2 separate regions of the Homo sapiens genome follow, and region 1 is linked to region 2. Evidence: promoter capture Hi-C in 16 types of primary human blood cells and fetal thymus (Javierre and others, 2016). All regions are on one chromosome and are shown on one strand. Each heading gives the region's core, a stretch centred on a gene start or on the middle of the fragment in contact. The rest is flanking DNA. Distances are from core to core; before and after follow the strand shown. Region 1 overlaps MYO1H (myosin IH). Region 2 holds the start of ACACB (acetyl-CoA carboxylase beta).

What was found. Contacts are between HindIII fragments. The CHiCAGO score rates a contact against its expected background, and 5 or more counts as called.
Region 1: a fragment that was not itself captured here is called in contact with the fragment with the promoter of ACACB in region 2 in 2 of 17 cell types (M0 macrophages and endothelial precursors); the score reaches 6.9 in M0 macrophages.

The regions. Positions count from the first base shown.
Region 1 is chr12:109,382,706-109,388,982 of GRCh38, reverse strand. It overlaps MYO1H (myosin IH), which reads right to left. Exons shown (of 32, transcript NM_001101421.4): 2 at 139-300. Among named protein-coding and RNA genes, the nearest start is that of LINC01486, 26 kb to the right of the region's middle. The HindIII fragment of the contact is 1,389 bases long and covers 778-2,166 here.
Region 2 is chr12:109,112,233-109,118,774 of GRCh38, reverse strand. ACACB (acetyl-CoA carboxylase beta) reads right to left here and starts at 2,188. Exons shown (of 53, transcript NM_001093.4): 1 at 2,071-2,188. LOC105369974 (a long non-coding RNA gene) reads left to right here. Exons shown (of 3, transcript XR_945332.3): 3 at 1-121. The HindIII fragment of the contact is 11,769 bases long and covers 1-6,542 here.

The sequences.
Region 1 (6,277 bases), core at 223-2,722, 270 kb before region 2:
TGCATCTAAGAGTGGCGCCTCAGTATCTCCCTTTAATGTCTAACCTAATAGAGTGCTATTATTCACACTCATCAAAGTCGTGAAGGCAAGAAGGGAACAACCACCCTAGAAAAACAGCTGAGAAGTGGGTCACGTTACGTATATGAGGTTCTCGCTGAAACGCTTGCGGAGGTTGTCGACAAAGGCAGATTCGCTGGTGTACGCGTCCAATAGCACAAAATCCTGAACCCCGACCTTGTCCCGGGCAGTCAGCGCCCCTTCCATGTGCAGACGGATGTGTTTCCTCCTCACGTCTTCTTTCTACGGGAAATAGAACATTCTTCAGCAGCTCATCTATTTGGTAATATCTATTACACGTCTAATGCATGGAAATAACAAGATGCTAAACCCTGGGATAGTAGAGAGCCAGCATTAAATTATGCCGTCTTCACTTAGAGTTTACAATATGGTTGGGGATACAAGATCATAATCATAAAAAATAGGAATAGCAGCAGCTGATAGGAACCAAGTATTTACTGCTAGGTACTATTCTAAACACTTGACTTATACTGTTTCATTTGATCTTCATTCTGACCCTATGAAATACTATTATGATGCCCATTCTACAGATGAGAAAACTGAGGCATAGGAATGTCATAAGCCACGCCCAAAATCTGCCAAAAGACGCAGCCAGAAAATGAACCTAGACAACATACCCAGACTTGCTTTCCTGACAACCATGGACTCAATAAATGTTTTTTTTAAATTAATGTTTCCTTTATGTTGATTAGTCAAGCTTGAATTTTTTCTTTTTTTAAAATTAATTTTTCTTTATTTCAATAAGTGTTAATTGTGTAAACTCACTTTGTAATTCTCACATGGGTGGTGAGGAGTTTGGGCCAGAAAGGGAAATTCTTGCTACAGAGGAATATTTAAGGAAGGACAAACTTGGAGTGTTCCTCTCCAAGGATGGGCTTCAGATGTCACTGGAGAAGGTGTGGCTACAGCCCATTGGATGGCAAAGAATCTCACCAGGATACCAGGGCCAGAGCTGGTTCGGTCACTGGGCAGGCACCAGGCATGACCTTCCTGAGCACCCGCGCTGCTGGATGGGAGACCATGGAGGGGGCCAAGGAAATCAACCTTCCAGGGCTCAGGCAAGCTGCGGCCAGAGGGCAGGTGTGCGTTGGGAGAGGGAACAGGAGTAGGTATGAAGCCTGGAGTGTGTAATGTCTGCATCAGGAGGGCTGTGACAAAGTGGTCACCAGGCCCTTGGCCAGAGCTGTGAGGTCACTGAGAGACTATGTGCTCTGGGCACACGGTTAGTGTGTGTCCCCCCCACATACCACGTGCAGCAGAATGTACAGTCTGAAAACAAGAAAAAGCAAAACATAGCAAAGGACATCAGGAAGAGAAGCGGCCTGCCTTTGCAATGTCCCTCCAGTGCCCTCTAGTGACAAAAATGACATTGTGTTCACTTTAAGGAGAAATGCCTAAAGCGTGCAGTTGGTTATTGCTCAGCAGGTAATGAAGGGTGAATTTGGATCTGAGAGGCAATAAATTGACAACTGGTACATATGGATATGCAAAGGTCCTAGCATAGCCAAATTAACCTTGCAAAAGAAAAACAAAGCTAGAATAAGACTGTGTTTAATAAGACTGCGTCTCAATTGATTTTCAGTAGAGGTCCCAAAACAATTCAGCACAGAAATGGAAAACATTTCCATCCAATGGTGCAGGAACAACTAGATATTTATAAAGAAAAAAAATTGCAGTTGTGTGTGGTGGCTCACAGCTGTGATCCCAGCACACTGGGATGCTGAGGCAGGAGGATTGTCTAAAGCCAGGAGTTGGAGACCAGCCTGGGCAACACAGGGAGATTCCCATCTCTACTTAAAAATATATAAATAGAAAAAGAAAGTAAAAATGCATTTCAGTCCCTATATTACATTACACTACACTACACACACACACACACACACACACACACACACACACACACACACACGAACTTGAGATGCATCTTAGACCTAAATGCAAATTTAAAATCTATATAAAGCTACTGGAAGTAAACAAGGGGACCATCTTTGTAACCAGGGGAAGGCAAAGTTTTCTTAGATGAGAGCCAGGAAGAAATAATAATAAAAGACACAAAATAAGAAATCAGACTTCACCAAATATAAAGCTTCTCATTAGAAGACACTGTTAAGAAAATAGGCAAGTCACAGAACAGCAGAAAATATTCCTAAATTATACAGACGCAAAGAATTTGTATCCAGAATAAAAGACACCTACAGTCCAATAATAAAAAGACAAACCCAATGAAAATTTGGCAAAAGACTTGAATAGACACTTCACAAAGGAAGATAGACAAATTGGCAATACACACATAGAAAAATGGTCAACATTGTTAGTCATCAGGGAAACACAAATTAAAACCACAATGAGATACCACCACAATAGTTAAAATTAAAAACACTGACAACACCAAATACTGGTGAGGATGCGGAGCAGACAGAATTCTCTCGCACTTCTGGTAGGAATGCAAAGAGAATCACTTTGGGAAAAAGATCTGGCAGTTTCTAATGAAGTTAACCATGCCTCTATTCTTTGATCCAGCGATTCCACTCCTAAGTATTTACACAAGAGAAATGTAAACATATGTCTACAAAAAGACTTGAACATGAAGTTCAACTCATGCTCAACTTTATTCAGAACGGCCCCTAACTGGAAACAATCCAAATCCCCATCAACTGGAGAATGGCTGTGGCCCATCTGTACAATAGAAGGAGGACAGCAATAAAAGAGAAATAACGGGTACACGCAAGAGCATGGATGACTCTCACAGACATTATGCTGAGTGAAAGAGCCCAGACACAAAAGAGTCGTACTGTAGGATTCCATTGATATGGCACACTGGGACAAGCAAAACTAATCCACAGTGAAAAATCAGAACAATTGTTGCCTAGTTGAGGAGTTGTCAGGCAAATGACATTTTTGGAGTGATGAAAACATTCCATATCATGATAGGGCTGTGGGTTACATGAGTATATCTATCGGTCAAGATAAACTGTTAAAATTGTGTGCATTTCACTATATGTAAATTTTATTTTTGAAAAACAACCGTAAAAAATAAGTGGGGAAGAGGTAGGGATTGGCTGGAGGTATGAATATAAACGGAATGGCAGAATGTTAATTGTTAAAGCTAGGTGGTGGGTAGAGGGGGATTTATGATACTATTCTGTTTACTTTGCATAAATTTGAAGTTTTCCATAAAAAAAGTTTTAAAAAACAGAATGGCCACCAGATGTCTCCCTACACTAGCCAAATGGAGCTAGAAGAGCCTTAATCACTAGCAACCTAACATTCAAAACAATGCATTTAGATCAAACAATATTTTAGTGATTTCAGGCTGGGCGTGGTAGGCTCGTGTTTGTAATCCTGGCACTTTGGGAGGCCAAGGCAGGCGGATCACTTGAGCCCAGGAGTTTGAAACCAGCCTGAGTAACATGTTGAAACTCTGTCTCTACTAAAAATATGAAAACTAGCTGGGTGTGGCAGTGCGTGCCTGTAGTCCCAGCTGCTCATGCTGAAGTGGGAGGATCGCATGAACCTCAGAAGGCTGAGGCTGCAATGAGCCATGATTGCACTGCTACACTCCAGCCTAGGCAACAGAGTGAGACATTGTCTTAAAAAAAAAAAAAGAAAAGAAAGAAAGAAAAAAAGAAACATTTTAGTAATCCCAAATATTTCCATGCTGTACCACATATAGCATAGCATAATGATTAAGACGTTGGAACACGAGCATTTCCAAGTTCAAATCCTATCTCTGTTGCTTCCTGGCAGTATAATCTTGGGAGAGTCCCAAGTCTCTTGTTTCATCTCTATAAAACGGAATTATAATTGTACTTACCTCATAGGGTTGTCAGTTTCACCAGAACCATGTAAAGCACATGGAACCCTGCCAGGCACAATTTAAATTTAGTGAGTGCTTGCTTTTGTCATCATTAGTATCAATAATCACGATTATTAGAAATAGAAACATAGTAAAGCAAGTCTGCTGATTAGGAGTCAATGAGCCTCTATTAAATTGGAGGTGGGTTGGTGTCTGAAATAATGTCTGGAGCTGCACCCAGAAATATTACTGCAGTCAGGTTGCTGCAGGTGGAGGATGCAGAGATTAACCAAATTTCTCTCTTAGCCTGGTCCTAAGGATGGGAGGGTGGGGTACTCCTGCAGTCAGCCTAGGAACTGATGTGACTTGAAGCCCAAAGAAATTTGACAAAACCTTGTAGATTAAGGAACATGACAATGATTTTTAACTTGCCAGGGTCAAAGCAGACTCCATTCACTTCAGACTAGAGTTTTGTTTATTGCAATATTTCAGTTCTGACACCTCGATTCCTTTGTTGATTTCCAGTTATCTTTTAAAGGGCGTGAGAAAACGAGAGTGTCCCAATAAGAGTGACATGGACCATCAAAGGGATGAATATTGGGACATAAAGGAGAAGGGTAATCAAGAAGTTGGAGTGATTCAGCCTTGACCAAAAAGATGACTAAGAGACTTATAAAGAGAGCATTAAATCCAGATTAAATAAGAGGGAGGAAATTAAAGAGATCTTCAATTACACCTAAGAAAATTAAATTAAATCAAATTAAGTTACATCTAAGAAAGAACTCCATCTTTGGGGTGATAAAACTGTGGAGGATCCTAACTGTGCATAACCATGGTGCAGGGATCACAGATTCTGCCTGTTACAGGGTTCCAGCAGGTACCATGACTGAGTCAAGCTGCCAGGTGATGGGGACTGGGTTAGACTCAGGAATGAATGGCCATCTCTGGTGTGTAGCTACTGTCTGGCTCCAGCTGGTTGACATCAGGCACAAATATAGGGCCTGTGTTGCCAGAACTTCCGATTATTTAAGTCAGAAGTTTGGAATTACATACCCAGTCCTGTCGTACAATTTACCCTTGCAGGACATTATTTTGCAGCCTCTGCAGCAAGCCACTCTTTGTCTTGGATGGTTTAGACCTGTTGCTCATCTAAAAGCAGGGGATTCAAGGAAACACTCAAACCAGAACCATCATTTTGGAAGTATCATGTACTCAGTGATGATCTGATCATCTTCTACATAATCTAATGCTTGACCCAGTATGTGGAGTCGGGGTGGGGAGATGACAGGGAGGCCACAGTATGTGGAAAGGTGGTGAGATGCCATGGTAGAGGCAGAAATGCCTGCCAGCTATTCCGTGGACTTCCCCACATTTACAAACTCCCTTGCAGTTAGGTGGAGTTGCTTGACTACTTCCGGCCAACTGGCTGTAAATAGAAGTGACATTTGTGTAAGACCCTTCCAGTGTTATTAGAACTTCTTTGATACTGCAATGACTGAGAATTTCTTTTGCTGAATGGACAAGCCACAAGATCAAAACAGCCTGGATTCCTGAGCCATCACATGGAGGAGAGATGTCTTGAAGAGTCATCAACACCCACAGTAGACTTTGTGTACGTAAGAAATAAACTCCTGTTATGGGAAACTTCTGAGTTTTGGGGCTGTTTGTTATTGTAGCTGAAGACTGCTTATCCTGACTAATACACATGCGGAACAGAACTTTTCCACTGGGAGGACAGCAGTTTGAATGTGAGCCACAGTTCTCCCATGTTAAACTTGGCCAGCTGTTTTGGCTACTACCCTAAAGTTCTGGAGGAAGAGTAAGGGCTATTTTTTAAGGGGAGAAGAGGGTAGATGATAAGCCTTGAAGCTGTCATTTTTGAATTTTATTTGAAATGTCAAAATCCTTTGTTCAAGGGAAATGTTATAAGAAACCTTAATATGTAAAATTGAGGAAAGCAGACCTTTCTGATTGAAGTAGGGGGTGAGAGTTTCACTGGGTTGCCCCACAGAAACATGGGAGAGGTTCTGGGGAAAGCTTAGGGCAGAAGAGAGTTTGCAAACCACTGCATAGCCCCCGAGCCTTTATTGCCCAAGCACCATCATTTGAGCACTTCCTTCACATGTATTGTCATTGTCTGTGTACTGCCAGTATTATTTTTTACTTCATCTTTTCTTTATATTTATTTTTTATATATTTATATATTTATTTATATATATCATTATTTTAATTCATATTTTTAAAATATATTTTTCCTGTAAATATATATATATAAAGATATTTTGAAAAGTTCTCATACACAAAACTAACAAAAGTACAACAAACTCAATATACACAGCTTCAACAATGAACGTATGCCTTCCCCTATTCCAGCTGTGTTTCACTACTCCCCCAGCACTGGAT
Region 2 (6,542 bases), core at 939-3,438:
CTTTGAAGTAACAAGTCACTGAATCACAAATTCAGAGGAAGCATGAGAACAAGGTATTCCAGGCCGGGTGCAGTGGCTCATGCCCGTAATCCCAGCACTTTGGGAGGCCAAGGTGAGCAGATCACTTGAGGTCAGGAGTTCGAGACCAGCCTGGCCAACATGGCAAAACCCCATCTCTACTAAAAATACAAAAATTAGCTGGGCGTGGTAGTGCTTGCCTGCAATCCCAGCTACTCGGGAGACTGAGACTGAGGAATTGCTTGAACCTGGGAGGCAGGGGTTGCAGTGAGCTGAGATTGTGCCATCGCACTCCAGCCTGGGTGACAGGACGAGACTCTGTCTCAAAAAAAAAAAAAAAAAAAGAACAAGGTCAAAGTTTCTACTGGGATAAGACTTCAAGGAAACCTCCATTTCAAAAGATTAAAATGTTTATTTCCCCATGAAGACTGGGTATCTCATGTAATGTAATACTCAAATTTCTGTCTCAGACCTAAAGGTGTTGAAAGTATGAGCGAGTTTACACAACACCTGAGCAGGAGCAAATAAAACTCTTAAGAGCTTCTGAAAGAAAGTTACAGATTAGAGATATTTTCATCTCTAAATCACATGAATTAGGATTGGCTGGGTCTTTCCACTTAAAACTTGGAGAAGTCATAAAAAGAAATCTTGTAAAGAACTCCATGTCACTATTAGCAGAAACATGCAATTTATAAAATGATATCTTTGGCCAGGCGCGGTGGCTCATGCCTGTAATCCCAGCACTCTGGGAGGCCGAGGCGGGCGGATCACTTGAGGTCAGGAGATCGAGACCATCCTGGCTAACACAGTGAAACCCTGTCTCTACTAAAAATACAAAAAAAATTAGCCGGGCGTGGTAGTGGGTGCCTGTAGTCCCAGCTACTTGGGAGGCTGAGGCAGGAGAATGGCGTGAACCCAGGAGGCGGAGCTTGCAGTGAGCACTCCATCTCAAATAATAATGATAATAATAATATCTTCACCTTTCAGTTTTTAAATTGCAAGTCCCATGTCCCGGGAATTCCCCGGTCCTGGGCAAAGTGGGATGGTTGGTCACCCAACCTATATGGATGCCCATTGATATTAAAAAATAAAAGTAATCACAATAGACATGAGGGAGAGAGTTGTGTACAGTGTGAGTGTACAGAATAAAAGGTCTGGGGGGTTTATACCAAAATGTGCACAGTGGCTACCTGGAGGAGGAGGGTTAGACAGGAATAACAGCAAGGAGACTTTTGCACGGTGCTGAGTGACTTTTTAACTTGCATATTATTTTGGAATGCATTTTTTCAACATTGAAAGAAAGTCATGTCTTCCTAGAAATATAGGATATAGGACCACTACAAACGCTTTACTCTTAGTCTCCTTTTTTTCTTTTTCTTTTCTTTTTTTTTTTTTTTGAGACAGAGTCTTGCTCTGTCAGTCAGGCTGGAATGCAGTGGCGCAATTTTAGCTCACTGCAACCCCCACCTCCTGGGTTCAAGCGATTCTCCTGCCTCAGCCTCCCAAGTAGCTGGGATTACAGGTGCCCATCACCACATCTGGCTAATTTTTATGTGTTTAGTACAGATGGGGTTTCGCCATGTTGGCCAGGCTGGTCTCGAACTCCTGACCTCAAGTGATCCACCTGCCTCTGCCTCCCAAGGTGCTGGGTGGCATGAGCCACCGTGCCCAGCCTTAGTCTGCTTTAAAAAAAAAAAAAAAAAAAAAAAGAACAACCATTTGAGGAAACAGAAACAGAATACTATTCCTTAAGACAGTAGCTTTGGAGGCAAAAAACAGAATTGTTTATAAAACGTTGTGGAACTTATATGGGAGCATGTCCAGGGATCCACACCACCATTTATAGAAGCAAAGAAAGGCCCTTCTCTTTCATCTGCGTTACATTTCGAGCTCTTCTGATTAGCTTCCTTCAAACATGACGGGAGTCGTTTTTCCCCGGGGACCCCAAGTGCATGCCTTCAGACAGGGTCTGCTCTCACTATACATTGGGTTCGAATTTACCTGGACGTTGGCAGAATGGTCCGGACCCCGGGGAGGGGCGAGCTGACTTACCACTTTATTCCTGCCGCTTTTCTCTTGCCATGTCCTCCCCACCGTGCATTCAGGGTTACATTTTCCAGGTTCCTTGTTTGCTGAGGGCCTGAATCTAAGCCTGCTAGCTGCTTACTCTGGGGACTGCAAATGTCACTTTTAGATTAATCAGCCCCTGCTGTTTAAAAATATCCCTGGAGCACTTAACCTTCAAAGCAGCAACAACCCGGGGCAAAGATGAGAAAGATCCCACGTCAAACCACTTGTGCAGCCCTGGCTACTCCTGGGAGAGTTCTGCTATCTGCCTTTTAATCCCATAACTCGCTTTATTTCATAATTCTTAGCTGTTGAAGCCATGAGGCATCTAAAGTCCATGTTGTCGTAAGCAGTAGGCAGAAAGTCATCTGGGCCCTCCTGTGACATGCTGAAAATTAACTGCCTACAGGTGTTGGTCATTTGAGAAACAAGCCCCCATTGAAAACCGTGAATGGGAAGGTGATCGCTATCAGGTCACCTGGCTTCTCTCCCCTGAAAAGATTTGGCGAAACCCTCTCAAATCACGCCACTTAATGGAATGTTTCCAATTTCTTGTGACTTGGGGATAAAAGAAAAAAACAGCTCCATTGCCACATTCTCATTCAGGGTTGACTGGCTCTTGCTAGGGTTGAGCACAGAAGAGGAAATTCAGCACACGCTGCAGTTACATAGTGTTCTGCAACGTGGGGAGGGCTGGCATGTGGGACAAAGGTCGCCTCCAAGGCCCAGCTGGAGAAGCCCAGCCAACTAGGCAGCAGGAAAGTGGAGACCACATAGGAGCACATTGTGCTCAGGCAACAGGGAAGGTGGAACCCACTTCCTGCCAACAATGATGGCCTTACTAAACAGCAAGTGGAGAAACTGGCGAGAGCGCTGAGCACGGGATCTGTGCAAAATGGTTTAAATGGAAATTGCTGCTGGGGCTGGTGCAGCCTGTTCACAGCTACTTTGTTTCTGGGCTTATTTTGCAATAAGGAACAGTCATTGAATATTGGACTTCTTGGGATTTTCTCCACTGGACTTGGAAGCATGTGCTCTGGAAACCTCAGCATTATCAGCTGTAACCCCACAGCACCAGGTACATGTTACAGGAACCGGGGTGAAGGAATGCAGGTCAAATGCCTGCACAATGCCCGGCCCGAGTCATATGTTCTCTAGCCACAGTAGCCCTTGTGATGGCTCTTAGTCTATTTATTAAGACAATAAAAGAGGTGACTCTCAAACAAACCTATGTTTCCAGGGAGAGCCATCTGTGATTCAAGGACATTTTTATAAAATTCCATTGAAAAAAATTCTTAGGCTTCTAACTTCATGAAAAAAAAATTCTTTCCCAGTGATTCCAAATAATCATGATCTAGGCAGGGTGTTGACAGTGGCAGGACTATTAGGCTTTGAAATCAAGCTGATGTGGGTTTGAATCCTCCCTCCATTAGCCATGACTTTGAGCAAATGGCTGAGCTTCAGTGTCCTCATCAACTACTTCACCATATGGGTGAGAAAATGAAATGATTTATATTGAGTTTCTGGCACAGGGGCTTGCTCATGACAAGCACTTAATATCTTTCTAATGAAATTCATTACTTGCAAAAAGACTAGACATACCCACACATACAGGTGAAGAACTCTGCAGTGATTCAGTTCTCCCTAGACACTATCTCTTTAAGACACAGGTATTTTCCAGAATATAATTGGAAGGCTTGAAACCAAAGTTATTCATAAACTCTTTCCATCAAACACAAGAACGGTAATAGAAATATATTTCTTCAAACAGCTGTTAGTTTCAGAAAGTCACAGGTATCAAGTTACATTTTTTGTTTTGTTTTGTTTTGTTTTAGAAATAGGATCTTGCTCTGTTGCCCAGGCTGGATGGAGTGCAGTGGCATGATCATAGCTCACTGCAGCCTCGAACTCCTGGGCTCAAATGATCCTCCTGCCTCAGCTTCCCAAGTAGCTAGAACTACAGGCACACACCACCCCTGGCTAATTAAAAAAAAAAAAATTTTTTTTTTTTAAAGACAAGGTCTCATTATGTTGCCCAAGTTGGTCTTGAACTCCTGGCCTAAAGCGATCTTCTTGCCTTGCCTCCTAAAGCACTGGGATTACAGGTATGAGCCACTGTACCTGGCCCAAAAAAAATTATTAAGTGACCACATGGTCTAACAAAACAAGGCACCTGGAAAGAAATCACCAGTCCTGCTGCAAACCGGACCCTCTGTGAGAATTCACATGCCTTCCCCCACCAATTAAATCAGAATTTCCAGGGATGGGGTCTGGCTTTGCATGTTTTAGCTTCTCTAGGCTGGAGGAGCACTAGCTTCTTGTTGGAAGGCTCCCTACCTTCCTCTCCCACACCCTCACCCCAAACATCATTAAGAGAGACAAAAGAACATGCTATATACACAACTAACAAGCAGAGAACATAAATTATTGATCTCCTGGTCTGCTCCGCTCACCAATATTTATATTTCCAAGCATATTTCAAAAACTTAAAAACTGGTTCCCTAGCCTGGGCAACTTAGCAAGACCCCATTTCTATTAAAAACTTAGCCAGGTATGGTGGTGCATACCAGTGGTCCCAGCTGCTCAGGAGGCTGAGGCAGGAGGATCACCTGAACCCAGGAAGTTGAGGCTGCAGTGAGCCATGACTGAGTCACTGTACTCCATCTTAAGAAACAGAGTGAGACTCTATCGCAAAAAAAAGAAAAAAAAATTGGTTCCCATTGACTTAAACTACAAAGGAACTTCCTGTTGTCAGACCCAAATTACAGTGTCAGAAGGACTCTAAACAAGGAGGCCATCTCCAGCAGAGGAATGTTCTAGCTTTCCTCAGCTTGAGTCAGCACAAGTCAGCATGTGAGGTCTTTTCAAAGTAACCCAGAGCACCTCCCTGCAACCTGTTTTTCCTTGCAAATCTTGAAGGTTTGGCAAGGATGAAAAGCCAACACCACACGCATACGCCAAAAAGTTTGCTTCTCCACCAAACATACTTGCGAAGACTTTTATATGAGAAGCAAACTGAAGCAGAAAGTGAATTTGAACAGAGATGTATTATCTAATAATGCAAGCATACTAGCAACATGCTAAAGTCTATCTTTAAAAAATGCAAACAATTTATAGTCCCTGACCTTCCCCTGCTGGATGTAGATCAAAAGCAGGCAGTGACTTTCACACAATTAATTATTTTATAACTGGACGTTTCCAGTACAACATTTGCTAATAACTGACTTCCTTGTGTTACCAATTCCAAAAGCTGTCAGAGATCTCCCTAACTCACCTGAAAAGGGAGGAAACAGGAATCATTAGGCCAGGTTCTCAGAAGCCTCCCAAACCTTGCCACGTGGAACCATCCAGCTCCACATCCAGCATGTGGGTCCTGCCTTTGCAGAGGCAGGCTCCTCAGTGTTGAATGCTCTTGTTCCTCTTTGTGGCCTGGAAAGTTCAATATCCACTCAGACATTCTCTCCACTGGGAAATGTCTTCTTTCCTGGGCTGACCCAGCCGTTGCTGCCTTTTTGTTCCCACCGCACTGACAGTGAGTACACACAGGGGTCTGCAGACTGTGGTTCCAGATGCCTGTTTTCCAATAGCTCCCAAGCTAGGAGTGGTTTTTACATTTGTTAAATGCTTAGGAAAAAAAAAGATTTCGTGACACATGAAAATCATATTAAAATCTAATTTCAGTGTCCATAAATAATAAAGTTTTATTGGAACACAGCCTCGCCCGTTCCTGTACGTTTTGCCCACGGCTGCTTTCTCTGCAGTGAGTTGTTGAGCAGTTCCCACGGAGAACGGGTAACTGCAAACCCTCAAATATTTACCACCTGACCCTTCACAGAAAGTTTGCCAACCGCTGACCTAAAAGGCTAAGACTGCCTTTTATGCATCTTTGCATACTGAGTGCAGGAATATAGCAGACTTGACACATGAAAAAAGCAACTACCACATAGCTAAGAGTTCATCAAAATGAGTTGCCTGGTTGGTTTTTTTTTTTTTTTTTTTTTGAGACGGAGTTTTGCTCTTATGCTCTTGTTGCCCAGTCTGGAGTGCAATGGTGCGATCGCCCGGGTTCAAGTGATTCTCCTGCCTCAGCCTCCCAAGTAGCTGGGATTACAGGCATGTGCCACCACGCCTGGCTAATTTTGTATTTTTAGTGGAGACAGGGTTTCTCCATGCTGGTCAGGCTGGTCTTGAACTCCCGACCTCAGGTGATCCACCCACCTCGGCCACCCAAAGTGCTGGGATTACAGGCGTGAGCCCCCACACCTGGCTGAGTTGCCTAGTTTCTAAAGAATCAGTAATTAAATTTTTGGAGGGTCATGGACCCAGAAGCTGCTCTGTGTACTGTTTAAAGTGTCACCACATGACTAAAGTTCAATATATACACATATATATTGAATATATATACATATATACATACATATATATTGAATATACATACATATATATTGAACTTATAT